Regions from separate parts of the Homo sapiens genome. Here region 1 is linked to region 2. The links are contacts of gene promoters, found by promoter capture Hi-C in human tissues and cell types (Jung and others, 2019). All regions are on one chromosome and are shown on one strand. Each heading gives the region's core, a stretch centred on a gene start or on the middle of the fragment in contact. The rest is flanking DNA. Distances are from core to core; before and after follow the strand shown. Region 1 has its middle 59 kb from the start of TOPAZ1. Region 2 holds the start of CCDC13 (coiled-coil domain containing 13).

Region 1 (6,876 bases), core at 1,603-4,102, 1.4 Mb before region 2:
TGCTTATTCTCTTTAACCTGCTCAGCATCAATTCAGAGATCACAAATTGACAGCCTATTTGCTGAATCTGTCCTGAAGATATAGTTTGACCCATGAAACTTCTTGTTTTTAATTTGAATTCATTGTCAGCATTTAACAACGGGCATTTCACATAAACTTGGGCTTCTGGTTTGCACTGAAAAGTCATATCTAGGAACAACAGACCCACATTCCCATGGAACAATAGTTGGCTGGTGCTGCAGCAGCCACCTTCCTTAGGTGGGTCCCGCTGTCTCCAGCTTGGCACTGTCTGCACCTGCCTGCTTTGCTCTTCTACCTGCTAGACCTGAGTCTGAGCCCCTTGCTCTAGTTTCTTGTGTAGTCACCTTGCCTCTTACAGGCTGATTGTCCTGGATGCTGCCCCTTTCAATATAATGATTGCCTTACATTGGGCTAAACTGGATACAAAGAGAAGGAAGTGAAAACCATGTCATCTACGTAATAAAAACTAGAAAGGGCATTAAAAAGCAATTGGCCCTGTCAGCTAATTTCATCTAGAAATTTTCTGCTAGAAGTTCAATTTACTCTCCAATATTTATCTGATTTAGGGAAGCAAGTACAAAAGCCCTGGGGCAAGGGTGTAGGAGGGGGCAAAGTAAACAAGAGAGAAAGTAGTAGGAGATGAGACCAGGGAGTTCACAGGAGGCTAGGGTGTGACTGCGCAGGTGAAAGGAAATGGTCGGGTTCTGGTTTGCCAAGAGATTGGCATTTCCATGGGCTCCATCAAAATGAGGTCTCCCAATCCATTCTGCACTATGGGGCTGAACGGGACTCCTGAAGCTCACTTTTGAGAACACTCGCAGGAGAAGATGTAAGCCCACCTTTGATTTCCCATGCTTCCCAGTCACCCTTTTGCAGAACCTGTGATCTGAAGACTCAGTAAGCTGAGCAGCATGCCTGAAGTCATAGTCAGCAAGTCCAGGTTTAGGCCTTGGCATCCAGAATACAGAATTTCTGGATTCTCCAGGGATGACCTTTGCCCCAGAAGCTGCCCAGGATCATTAGAGAATTGCAAGACCTCTGGGAGTTCTCTCCGTGGAGTGGAGTCTTTCCCTATCTCTCTCTGGCTGTTCAGGGCAACCCGGCAATTGTATAACCCATTTTCTTGACTCATAGCCCTAAATTTCCTTCTGCCCAGTTCTTTCTGTACCTCCTAGTTTCTCCTCGTGACATCCCTGTGTCTAGAATGGCTCCAGTATGAGCAGATTTGGCTTTGGAGGCTGTTTTGCAAACCAAAATGAAGAGCCTGCTTTCACGTGGCTTGCAGGAACACCCTGCGAGTGAGCTTCAGCAGCAGCAGTTGCTTCATTCAATCCTAGGATACAACAAATGCTCCAAACAGGGCCACACATGCCTAGAAGTACAGCCCGTTTCTCAGAGCCACCCAGCAAGCGGCCATTTAATCTCAATTGCTCCCCAACAGTGTGTGCCAATTAAAGAGGAAGCCAGCAGGGCAAGGATCACTGGCGAATCTTTTGAGGGAAGGAGACCCCAGGGCTGCCTAGCCAAAGGCTCTCCCCCTCCATTCACACACTGTGCAAGAATGCAAACGGTGGGGCTGCCAGTTGGATCGAGGGCTGCCCCAGAAACGGGAGCTGAGATTCAGTCCAGATGGCAGCTAGAGTGGCAGCGCCACAGAATAGTATCCCCAGGGCTCGAAACTTCCAAAATGAGATTTACAGTTCTGGCCCGCCCCCTTTCGGGAGGAAACACCTGCTCCAGCAGCTTTGTGAACGGCCTCTTATTATCAACTTCTGTGCAGGGATCAGATTTTTGCAGCTAACTAGTGCCTGGTGTGAAATAAAAGCTATTTTGAGGTGGGAGGAGTTCTCAACCTTTCCTCTTGGAATTTTATGTCTTCATTAATTTCTCTCTCATCCATTATTTCCAGGTCTGCTTTCTTCCACAATTATTCCTTCTCTAGCTGCTTTTCCTTTCTAAAACTTCAGAACAGTGCTTTGGAGACCAAGCTAGGGCTTACTAGTAGTTCCCAACACTTCCTGCCCATCAGAATTATCAAGGGCACACAAATGTTATGCCTGGGCCACTTTCCAGCTCACTTAAGTCAGAATCTTTAGGGGTAGGTCCCTGGCATAGAAATATAAGTTCCTTAGCTGATTCTAATATGTAGCCAAGGTTCAGAACTACAGGCTACACAAATGATGCTTAAGAAGTAAGACAGAGTTGGACAGTCCTGATGAATTGAGGTTTAGCTTAATACCTGCCTGCAAGTCTCTAGAAGCAGGATTTAGTCCCAAAGATGAGCTGTGAGGAGCTGGATTATTTTTTCTTGGCTTTTCTCTTGTTATATGAATGATACATGTTCATTGAAGATTTAGAAAATGCAGAAACAGAAAAATCTATAACCATTCAGAACTACAGTTAATATTTTGGTGTATATTTTAATGTATGTCTCTTTTAAGCTAATTTTTATGCACATGTACAGAGCTGCTTGAATGAAAAATGGGATCAAACTATGTACCCTAGTAACCCTTTTAAAATTATGAGTCACTTTCTATGTGAGTAAATACAACATGGAACACAATCTAAATTGGTGGCGTAGCATTGTTTAATCGGCCTCCTATTAATAGATTTTAGGCTACTGTTCTCTTACAATAAACACCATGATGTCTACTCTTATTGCCAAATTTTTGCCCACATATCCATGATATTTTTCTGATCTTTTCTCTCTGCTCATTGACTGGGTCATCTTGCCTAGTCCCGTAGCTTTAAATATACTCCAAATTCTAATATGCCAAAATATAGACAATTCAAAAATATTTTATTCAAAAGGAGTTATTATGATGCTCCTCTGGCTGCCTATACCTCATCTCCTATCTGCTTCTTGTATGTTTGTTTTTTTTTCATACCAGAAATCTAGACATCACCCTCAATTCTTCCTTAACTCCCACAGCAGAATCTTTCCCCATCAATCCCTGCACAGGACTTGTTGGTTCAAGTTCCACATTGTCCTGAATCTATCTACATCTTTGTATCTTCTATCATCTCCTACTCTAAGCCACCCTCAACTCTCATTTGGACTAAAGTTTTCACTCTTGACCTTCTTATATCTTTTCTTCATATTGCTACCACAATGATCTCCCTTAGGCCTAAATCAGATGATGGCATTTCCCACTTTGCAGAGTTTCATGGCTCTCCATCTTCTAGAATAAAATTCACGACTTCGTGTCATGATCCACAGGCCCTGCAGATCTAGCTCCCGCTTATCTTGCTAATCTCATCATTCTACTTCTCCACTTGATGACTAGGCTGTAGTCATACTTGTATTCTTTCCGTTCTTAAGTATGCTAACTTCTTTCCCCCCTTGGGACTTTGATACTTGCAGTGCAGCATCCACCTAATGCAAGGGGAACTCGTGCAAACATGAAGCTTATGTTTCTTGTTGTTCCACGAGTAATTAAATCCTTTGATCTAGGAGTACTTTGACCATGAAATGGTGGCAGGCTAATTTGTTAACTTGCAAGTAGGGTAAAATCTCAGACCCTTTACAATTATTGACATTCACCATGCCAGTGTTCTTGGGAGGAAACCTTAACTCAGAGGAGGTCAAATATGCCTGGCTGCTTACTGAACACATTGCTTTTGAACAGACCTGGCAAATCACTTCTCAAGTACTATAGCTTCCCCCATCCCCTTCCCCACTATACCCACTTTCAACTGACTATTAAACCATACTGCACTAAAAATTTCAGCTCTAATCAATGGAAGAAGCAGGAGTGATTATCTCTCAACGCTCATAGCAGTCCTATTTGGCCTATGAGTAAAGTGGGTGGCTCCTGGGGACAAATGTTGGCAATCATGGCTTTTCACCAAACTAGACACAGTGAAAACTATTTAGGAAGTGCAACAGATTGAAAATGTGACAGATTTGACGAATGCTTGCTTTTCTGTATGAATTTCAAAAGGAAGCCAGGCACAATTCATTTTCTTACAGGAAGAAATGCAGTATGCATTTCTGAATTCTCCAATGTATGCTCACAACCTGGTGAGAAGCAATTTGGATTTGGTTACTATCAAAAGTTGTTTTTCACATTGATATTATGATGACCTCCTTTTCAAAAGAAGCAGGCAGGGAAGACTGGAGAACTCCAGTAGCACATATGACCAGCTGAAGATGGTTACTTCACTTGTTCCTATCAGTTCAATTTGGGGAAATAATTTGGGCAAAGATTATGCAGACAGGAAACATTACTGCTCAGGGTGCTATTTGTTTCTTAGAATTTTATCGTGCTTTTTAACAAAGACAAGTGCGAACTGGTGACTTTACCTCGTGTGTCTAAACTAAGACTGCCTCTAAATCCTGCCCAGCTGCCTACATGTATAGTTCCATAATCCTTGGCTTGTCTGACCCCCTGCCTTCTCTTTCCTGTGAATAGACAAAGACATGGCCAGCCTAACCCTGCTGTCTGCTCTGGGGTCGGCAGTGTAGCTGAATCCATGGATCTAAATTCATTATCTGATTTGAGACAGACAATGAATGGGCAAAAGGGGAAATCGTGACAGATGGCGATAGAGCACACAAATAGACGGTGATGCCAGGAAAGGATGTCACTATCTTCTCAAGACTGCATCTTGAGCTGGGTGCAGTGGCTCACGTCTGTAATCCTAGCACTTTGGGGTGGGTGGATCACTTGAGGTCAGGAGTTTGAGACCAGCCTGGCCTGCATGGTGAAACCCCATCTCTACTAAAAATACAAAAATTAGCCCGGCATGGTGACAGGTGCCTGTAATTCCAGCTAGTTGGGAGGTTGAGGCAGGCAGGAGAATCGCTTGAACTCAGGAGGCAGAGGTTGCAGTGAGCTGGGATCGTGCCACTGCACTGTATATAGCCTGGGTGACAGAGTGAGACTCTGTCTCCAAAAAAAAAAAAAAAAAAAAATTGCATCCTGGAACAAGAGAATAATACAGTTAGGTGTTTGTGGTGCCAAACCATGGCAGATTCTGGGAGAAGCCCCTGGATTTGCTTTCCCTTGAGAAAATTTGGACTGAAGCTAGAATACAAGGTATGCTAATTACTTGCTTGATCGATTGACAGGGTTTCACTCTGTTACTCGGGCTGGAGTGCAGTGGCGCAGTTAGTTCACTGCAGACTCAAACTCCTGGGCTCAAGCAGTCCTCCCACCCCAGCCTCCCAAGTAGGTAGAACTACAGGATCATGACTGACCCAAGGAATAGTTTAGAATTTTACTAGGTTAATTAGAGAAAATATACCAATCAATAGCCCTTTGGTCAACCTGAATGATAGCCGGCTGGATCATTATTTGGGTAGCTTTTGTTTGTTTTGGTTATGTTTGTGATATTGGTTCTTTTGTAGCCCTTAGCTTTGAACTTGCATGTACCTGGCAGCTGATACATTGTAATGTTGTAATTCAGGGTGGCATCTAGGTAAAGATATAAAAAAGTTGCATCTTACTGCTTACACAGTGTCTCAGAATTCACTTTGCTTTTTGACTATACCAGATGTGGATGTGGATGAAAAACCATGCAATCAAGCATTCAGGAATCAGAAGGGTGTCCACGAGGGTGAATACCTATGTGATATGGTCACCCCATCCCACTGGCTCCCCTGGAACTTTGGGATGGCAGATGGGTGGTGCTGTATAGTGAAACCTGGAAGCTTGGGTTTGTGAGAACTTGTTTCTTGGTTGCAAGGGTATGATCATGGCCTGGGACCAGTGGAACTCAAAGTTTACTGAGCAGTGGCCTTTAATGACCACCTCAATTAAGAAAAATAAGTGATATTTGAGACAAAGGATGTTTTTGCTTGGAAGGTTGGGGAAATGACACCATTATATTAACTGATGTATGATGTAGTAAGCATTACTTTAATCTCTGTAATCATTATAGAGTATAATAAAAGATTTCTAGCTTCATGTATAGAGCTAAATGAAAATCAAGCCAATGTAGCAGATGATCTCCAGGATGAACAGGATGAAAAGATGTTTCGGGAAGTAGTCTTAAAACCTCCAATTGATGTAATTCCCATCAAAACTTGCCAAAAGACACCATGGAGTTGAATGCTTCTATCGATATCTATTAAAAATGTGCAAACAATGGGTGGGGAGGGGGGAGAATATAGAAGGGAAGAGTGGAACAATTGGTACCATATTATATATCAGAACATTTGTGAATGGGGCAGAGTGTTGTTAACATGCTTTGCAGAAATAATCCCAACTCTTCATTGGAGGATGTAGATCTTAGTGGTTGTCTGTATTTTAGCATATTTATTTTGTTGTACAACAAATATGGTGGAAATTACTATATTAAGAATAAGAAAATACCTCAAACATGTATCAACATGTTTTAATGGGGATCAGGAAGTGAGCTGGAAGGAGGTTAGCAGCTGCTTCTGTAGTATTTCCTTGAGCCTCAGGGATAGCTGAGGATCTTCTTGCAGCATTAACTCAAAGAATTGTTGGGATGATATGCTACTGATAACATAAAATCCATCTGAGGATTATGTACAGGTGTCGCATGTTGTCAAAATTTGTTATTGAATAATGAATAATTGATATTGAGATGCAGCTGCCCTAAAGAATCAAGACTAGTCATATGCCTGAGGGGCTGTAAGGCCAGCTGGCATAAAGCCGAAAGAGCTCAGAGCCCATGGCTTCCCTGAGCTGGGGTCAGCAGCAGTCACTCAGTCTCGTCTCTTATGACCACACATGTTCCGAGTTCAGAATGGCTGGGACACCAGCAGCTGTGCCCAGGAGTCACAGGACCTATGCTCTGCCATTGCTGTGCATGCCAGGATATTTCATGCTCTCTATCCTTTATTAAAGCTAAACACACTTGGTGCTAGTTGAGGCCTGTTGT
Region 2 (6,514 bases), core at 3,774-6,273:
CCCACTTTAAAGTTGGAACTACATGGAACTGTGGGGAGAACCTAATTTAGGGATTAGGAAAAAAAGCCATTACACCCACACAAGTATGCACAGCTGATTTTTAAAACCTTTATTGTGGTAAATATACATATAAAAATTACCATTTTAACCATTTTTAAGTGTACAATACAGTGGAACTAAGTATATTCAAAATGCTATGTAACCATCACCACCATCCACCTCTAAAGTCTTTTCATCAGCCCAAACAGAAACTCCATGCCCTTTAAGAATAACTTCTGGTTGGATGTGGTGGCTCACACCTATAATCCTAGCACTTTGGGAGGTCAAGGCAGATCGCTTGAGCCCAGGAGTTCGAGATCAACCTGGGCAACATGGCGAAACACCATCTCTACAAAAAATACAAAAATTAGCTCGGTGTGGTGGTGCGAGCCTGTGGTCCCAACTACTTGGGATGCTAAGGTGGGAAGATAACCTGAGCCCAGGTGGTTGAGGCTGTAGTGAGCTGTCATTGCACGACTGCATTCCAGCCTGGGCGATAGAGCGAGACCCTGTCTCAAAAACAAACAAAAACCCCCAAACCTCTCTACTTGCCCCGTTCTTCCACTCCCTAGCATCCTCTATTCTACTTTCTGTCTCTATGAATTTGTTCATTCTAGGTACCTAATATACATGGAATCGTACAATATTTGCCATTTTGTGTCTGGCTTATTTCACTTAGCATAATGTTTTCAAGGTTCATCCAGAATTCAGAATTTCATTCTTTTCTAAGGCTGAATATTCTGTGGAGTATATATACCACCTTTTGTTTACTCATTCATCTGTTGAAGGTTGCTTGGGTTGTTTCTACCTTCTGGCTATCGTGAATAATGCTGCTATGAACACTGGCATACAATTACCTGTTTGAGTCCCTTCTTTATTTTTTATTATTACTTTTTTTGTAGAGACAAGGTCTCGCTATGGTGACCAGGCTGGTCTCGAGTTCCTGGCCTCAAGCAGTCCTCTACCTCAGCCTCCCAAAGGGCTGGGATTACAGGCATGAGACACTGTGTCTGGCCAAGTCCCTTCTTTCAAATCTTTCGGGCATATATTTAGAAGTGGAATTGTAAATCATACGGTAATTCAATGTTTAACTTTTTGAGGAACCACCAAACTGTTTTCTACAGTGGATATACCATTTTACATTCCCACTAGCTCTACATAAGGGTTCCAAATTCTTCACATCCTGGCAAACACTTGTTATTTTCCATTTTTTGGATAATATCCATCCTAATGGGTGTGAAATGGTATCTCGTGGTTTTGGTTTGCATTTCTCTAATGGTTAGTGATGTTGGGCATGTTTTCATGTGCTTATTTGCCATTTGTATATCTTCTTTGGATTAATGTCTATTGAAGTCCTTTGCCCATTTTTGAATTGGGTTTTGTTGTTGAGATAGCTAACCTGATTTTTGACAAAGGTGCAAAAGCAATTCAATGGAGGAAGCATAGCTTTCCAACAAATGGTGCTGGAACAACTGGACACCATAGGCAAAAAAGCAAAAAAGAACCTTGATCTAAATTTCATACCTTTATATAAAAATTACATCAAAATAAATCATGGGCATAAAACTCTAACACTTTTATAAAAATGGGGGGAAATCTTTGGGACCCAGGGCTAGGCAAAGAGTTCTTTCTTAGACTTGAAATCAAAAGCACAATCCATTAAAGAAGGAATTGATAAATTGGACCTTGTCAAAATCAAAGCCTTTTGTTCTGTGAAAGCCCAAGTGAAGAGGATTAAAAGATGAACTACAGATTCGGAGAAAGTATTTGCAAACTACGTATCCAACAACGGACTAGTATATAGAATATATAAAGAATTCTCAAAACTCGACAGTTAGAAATTGGGCAAAAGACATGAACAGACACTTCACCAAAGAAAATATACAGATGACAAATAAGCACATGAAAAAGATGTTCAATATCATTATCCGTCACGTACATTAGAACCACAATGATATCACTACACACCTATTAAAATGACTAAAATAAAAATAGTGACATCAAATGCTGGCAAGGATGTGAAGAAACTGTGTCACTTAAACATTTCTGGTAAGAATGTAAAGTGGAACAGTCACTCTGGAAAACAGGTTTGGCAATTTCTTCTAAAACTAGATATGCAGTTACCATACTACACAGCAATTGCACTCTTGGGCATTTATTCCATAGGAATGAAAACTTATGTTCACACAAAAACCTATACATGAATGTTTATAGCAGCTGAATCATAATTGCTCCTAACTGGAAACAACCCAGATGTCTTTCAGTGGGTAAATGGTTAAACAAACTGGTACATTCATACTAGAACTACTCAGCAATAAAAAGGAATGGATTATTGATACACACAACAACTTGGATGAATCTCCAAGGAATTGTTCTGAGTAAAAAAAAAAAAAAATCCATCCTAAAAAGTGTACATGCTGAGTTATTTCATTTATATAACATTTTTGAAATGACAAAATTTTAGAAATGGAGGGCAGACTGGTGGTTGTAAAGGGTTAGGGACTAGGGCAGGAGGAGGGAGGGAAGTGTACATAGTCATAAAATCACAACAGAGAGATCCTTGTGATAGTATTTGGTATCTTTTTTTTTTTTTGAGACAGAGTCTCACTCTTGTCGCCCAGGCTGGAGTGTAATGGCGCGATCTCAGCTCACTGCAACCTCCACTTCCTGAGTTCAAGCGATTCTCATGCCTCAGCCTCCCAAGTAGCTGGGATTACAGGCAAGCACCACTATGCCTGGCTAATTTTTGTTATTTTTAGTAGATATAGGATTTTGCCATGTTGACCAGGCTGGTCTTGAACTCCTGGCCTCAAGTGATCTGCCTGCCTCAGCATCCCAAAATGCTGGGATTATAGGCGTGCATGAGTCACCATGCCCGGCTAGTATTTGATATCTTGATGGTCATGGATACACAAACTGACACGTGATAAATCAAAAGAAAAGTACAGTTAAATTGGAGAAATCTAAGAGGAGTAGGTTGTATCGATGTCAATATCCTGGTTGTAATATTATACTAAAGTTCTGCAAAATATCATTGTGGAGAACTGGAAAAGTATACAGGGGATCTCTATTATTTTTTACAACTGCATGTGATTCTATAAAAATCTCAATATAATTTCAAATTAAAAAGCAAAAAACAAAGGGCAGTGTCCTACAGATACTTCTGGCTAGAGAAACAAAGTGGGCTGGAATTAACAAACATCTGTATACTGTACATGAGGAAATACTGGTGACCCAGATTGGATTCGCCAGCTTCTTGGATGATAAAATGTCAAGCTTATAAACTAAAGAAAATTCTCAAAAGAATTTTGGGCAGAAAAAAAAAATGGCATGAGAGCCTTAGTGGTGACCGTGGAAAAGTAACAAACCTAGAGGAAAATCATCCCTGCTTTTTAAAAAATGGGTTACTGCAAAAATGATATCCTCGTCAAAAATAATCCTTGGATTGCTGGAGCAAATGTTACCCCTTTCCCAAACTTTCTAATACATACATTCTAGAATGTCGGTTCTGAAATTCTCTTGCATCCTTAATTTTCTCACAGCATGTTCTTATTTTAATGAAAACCTGGCTTTCTGCTAGGATCCATGCTTTCCAGAAGCCCTCTAAGTAGACCTGGCTATTCCTTTTCCTATGCCACATAGTCCCATCGTGGTCATGAGGCAAACGAATGATACTCCCCACTACACACACCATTTAAAAAAAACCCTAATCCTTTGAGGCTCACATCTACCTGAATCCTACTCTTTATCCTGTCTCTCTTTGCTGCCACCTGTATATTATACGTCTCCCACCCTCAGCTCACCAGGCAGCAATTGGAGACCAACGGGAAAGATCCATTTTTCCTTTATCAGGAAACTTCGGGTTTATACCTGCAGTGCTGATGGCAGTCTAGTGCCGTATCTTATGTATGCATGTCTATGGGATGGGTATTCATTCACCTTATGAGGAAAAAAAATAGAAAAACAACTGCCAAGGTTTTCAAATTATGAAGTCCTGGATAAATATTTGGGCAGGAGCTGTGGCTCACGCCTGTAATCCCGGCACTTTAGGAGGCCAAGGTGGGCGGATCACCTGAGGTCAGGAGTTCAAGACCAGCCTGGTCAACATGGTGAAACCCCGTCTCCACTAAAAATAAAAAAATTAGCCAGGTGTGGTGGCGGGTGCCTGTAATCCCAGCTACTCAGGAGGCTGAGGCAGGAGAATCGCTTGAACCTGGGAAATGGAGGTTGCAATGAGCTGAGATCGCACCACTGCACTCCAGCCTGGGCGACACAGCGAGACTCTATCATAGATAGATAGATAGATTAGATAGATAGATAGATAGAAAGAAATCTCCCTTGAATCATCTTTCCTAGAAATTTGCCTCCCACCCCCATATTGCCCTGAAATATAGTAGTGTCTTACATTGGAAGGTGCCATTTAAAAAAAAAAAAACAAGTATTTTCCTTTATGAAAATAAACGATGTTCATTATTTTAAAAATTCTCTAAAGTGTAAAAATAAAAACACAGCACTGCTATTCCACCACCCAAATATAACCACTTTTAATATTTCTATTTCGGTCTTGTTTTAGTGCCTAGTTTGAAATAAACACAACTTTATTTATTTAGCATTGCTATATTGCGTCCTGCTTCCTTCACTCACCATCATAACATGGCCTTTCCCCACACTGTTTTACATTTTTCAAATATATCTGAATGGCTACTTTAAATTTCATGGTGAGATCGTTCGCTTTTTAACTCCCCAACAGGAGAGCGGAATGGGCATCTCTGTGCAGAACGTTTGGTCCACAAAACTTTTTTAAAAATATACTCCAGAAGATTTAAAATCTCCAGCGCACTCGAGATCGTGCTCGCTTGGATCCAGCCCAGCGCGCCATCAGCGCCTCTGTCACTTTCAGAACTCTTGGCGCCCCCTCGGCCCCCGTAGAGTAGCGTTGAAAACGCGCAAGTGACGTCGCTTGTTTCCCTGGTGACGGTTGCCAGGGCAGCGCGTGTCGGCGTCCGGAGGAGGTGACCTAGCCGCCGCGGTCCTAGAAGGGAGAAGTGGAGAGAGACCGCTGTAAGTGCCGGGGAGAGCGGAAGGGCCCGGGCCGGAGCTGGGAAAGCCCGCAGCTGCCGGGGGCGCGGAACCGAGCCCGAGCGCAACCCCAGCCCGAGCGCGCTGCCACTGGCCGGGCGCTCACCGCGTGCTGGGCGCCCAGCGAGGACTCTTCCCCTTCGTCCTTTGAATCTTCACACACAGCCCTCTTCTAACCCAGGCAGACGCTTATTTTCCATGCAGTACATGGGTTAATGAGGCGCAGAGGGTGGGTCGCCTGCCCCAAAGTCATAGCGTAGATGGCACAGTCAGAACTCGAACTCAGGTCCGCCTGACAAGCGCTGTTTGCTGGGCCTCTGCCACTGGGCCCTCTCGCACCGCACTGAAAGATGCGACCCGACGGCGTGCACTTCCGCATCTCCCAGTTCCCCTTCCAGGCCCAGCCCCCACAGGACTGGGGACTCGCAAGAGGGAGTTCCCCTCCAAGCCCGGAGTCCAGCCCTGAGAACCAGAGCATCACCCCGCTCCCATCCCAAACCCATCCCTACGAAGATGCTAGCAGTGCACAGAGCGCCAAACTAGGCATCCGTGGGCGGCCTCCCCACACCTCCAGGCCCCTAGACTGTTGTTGAGAATACTCGAAAAGAACACAGTAAAAGAAAAGAAGAAAGAGAAGGAGAGGGGAAGAGAAAAACAATGAAAAAAGTGGCAGGCCGATGGGGCAAGGGGTCTCAATCCTTCCTCACTGGTCCCTGTCACCTATGGTCCCATATCCTGTGGGATCTTGCTTCCTCATAGGACTCCAGAGTGCATGCCACTCTTCCTACTCCCTGGCTCTAAGTCCTACCTGAGCCAAGAGTTCTTTCCATGCAGCTCTAGCCTTTACTTTATTTTTTTTATTATTACTTTTTTTTTTTTTTTTTTTTTTTGACGGAGTCTCGCTCTATCGCCCAGGCTGGAGTGCAGTAGCGCGATCTTGGCTCATTGCAACCTCTGCCTCCCAGGTTCAAGCGATTCTCCTGCCTTGGGCTCGAGTAGCTGGGATTACAGGCGCCCGCCACCATGCCTGGCTAATTTTGGTATTTTTAGTAGAGATGGGGTTTCACCATGTTGGCCAGGCTGGTCTCAAACTCCTGACCTCAGGTGATCCACCCACCTCAGCCTCCCAAAGTTTTGGGATTACACGCATGAGCCACCACGCCCGGCTTAGCCTTTACTTTTAAAAGAAAATAGACTTAAAGCAGATTTTTAGAAGCATTAAACAAAAAACAGTTCCTTTATGTATTCCGTATTCCCATTTCCTCTGTTGTTAACATCTTACACATTGCATTGGTGTGGTACATTTGTTATCATTGATACAACTATACTGGTATGTTATTACTAACTAAAGTCCATAGTTTACATTAGAGTTCATCTGTTGTTGTTGTTGCTGCTG

The links. The method cuts DNA at HindIII sites, captures the fragments that hold promoters and counts their contacts. A contact is called where the count stands out against the background at its distance.
Region 1: a fragment that was not itself captured here is called in contact with the fragment with the promoter of CCDC13 in region 2 in 1 of the 25 tissues and cell types used here (aorta).

The regions. Positions count from the first base shown.
Region 1 is chr3:44,179,256-44,186,131 of GRCh38, reverse strand. No RefSeq gene overlaps it. Among named protein-coding and RNA genes, the nearest start is that of TOPAZ1, 59 kb to the left of the region's middle. The HindIII fragment of the contact is 3,402 bases long and covers 1,152-4,553 here.
Region 2 is chr3:42,771,762-42,778,275 of GRCh38, reverse strand. CCDC13 (coiled-coil domain containing 13) reads left to right here and starts at 5,023. Exons shown (of 16, transcript NM_144719.4): 1 at 5,023-5,100. It overlaps CCDC13-AS2 (CCDC13 antisense RNA 2), which reads right to left. Exons shown (of 2, transcript NR_122070.1): 2 at 4,641-5,071. RefSeq lists an enhancer at 4,843-5,012 and a silencer at 5,143-5,302. The HindIII fragment of the contact is 11,501 bases long and covers 1-6,514 here.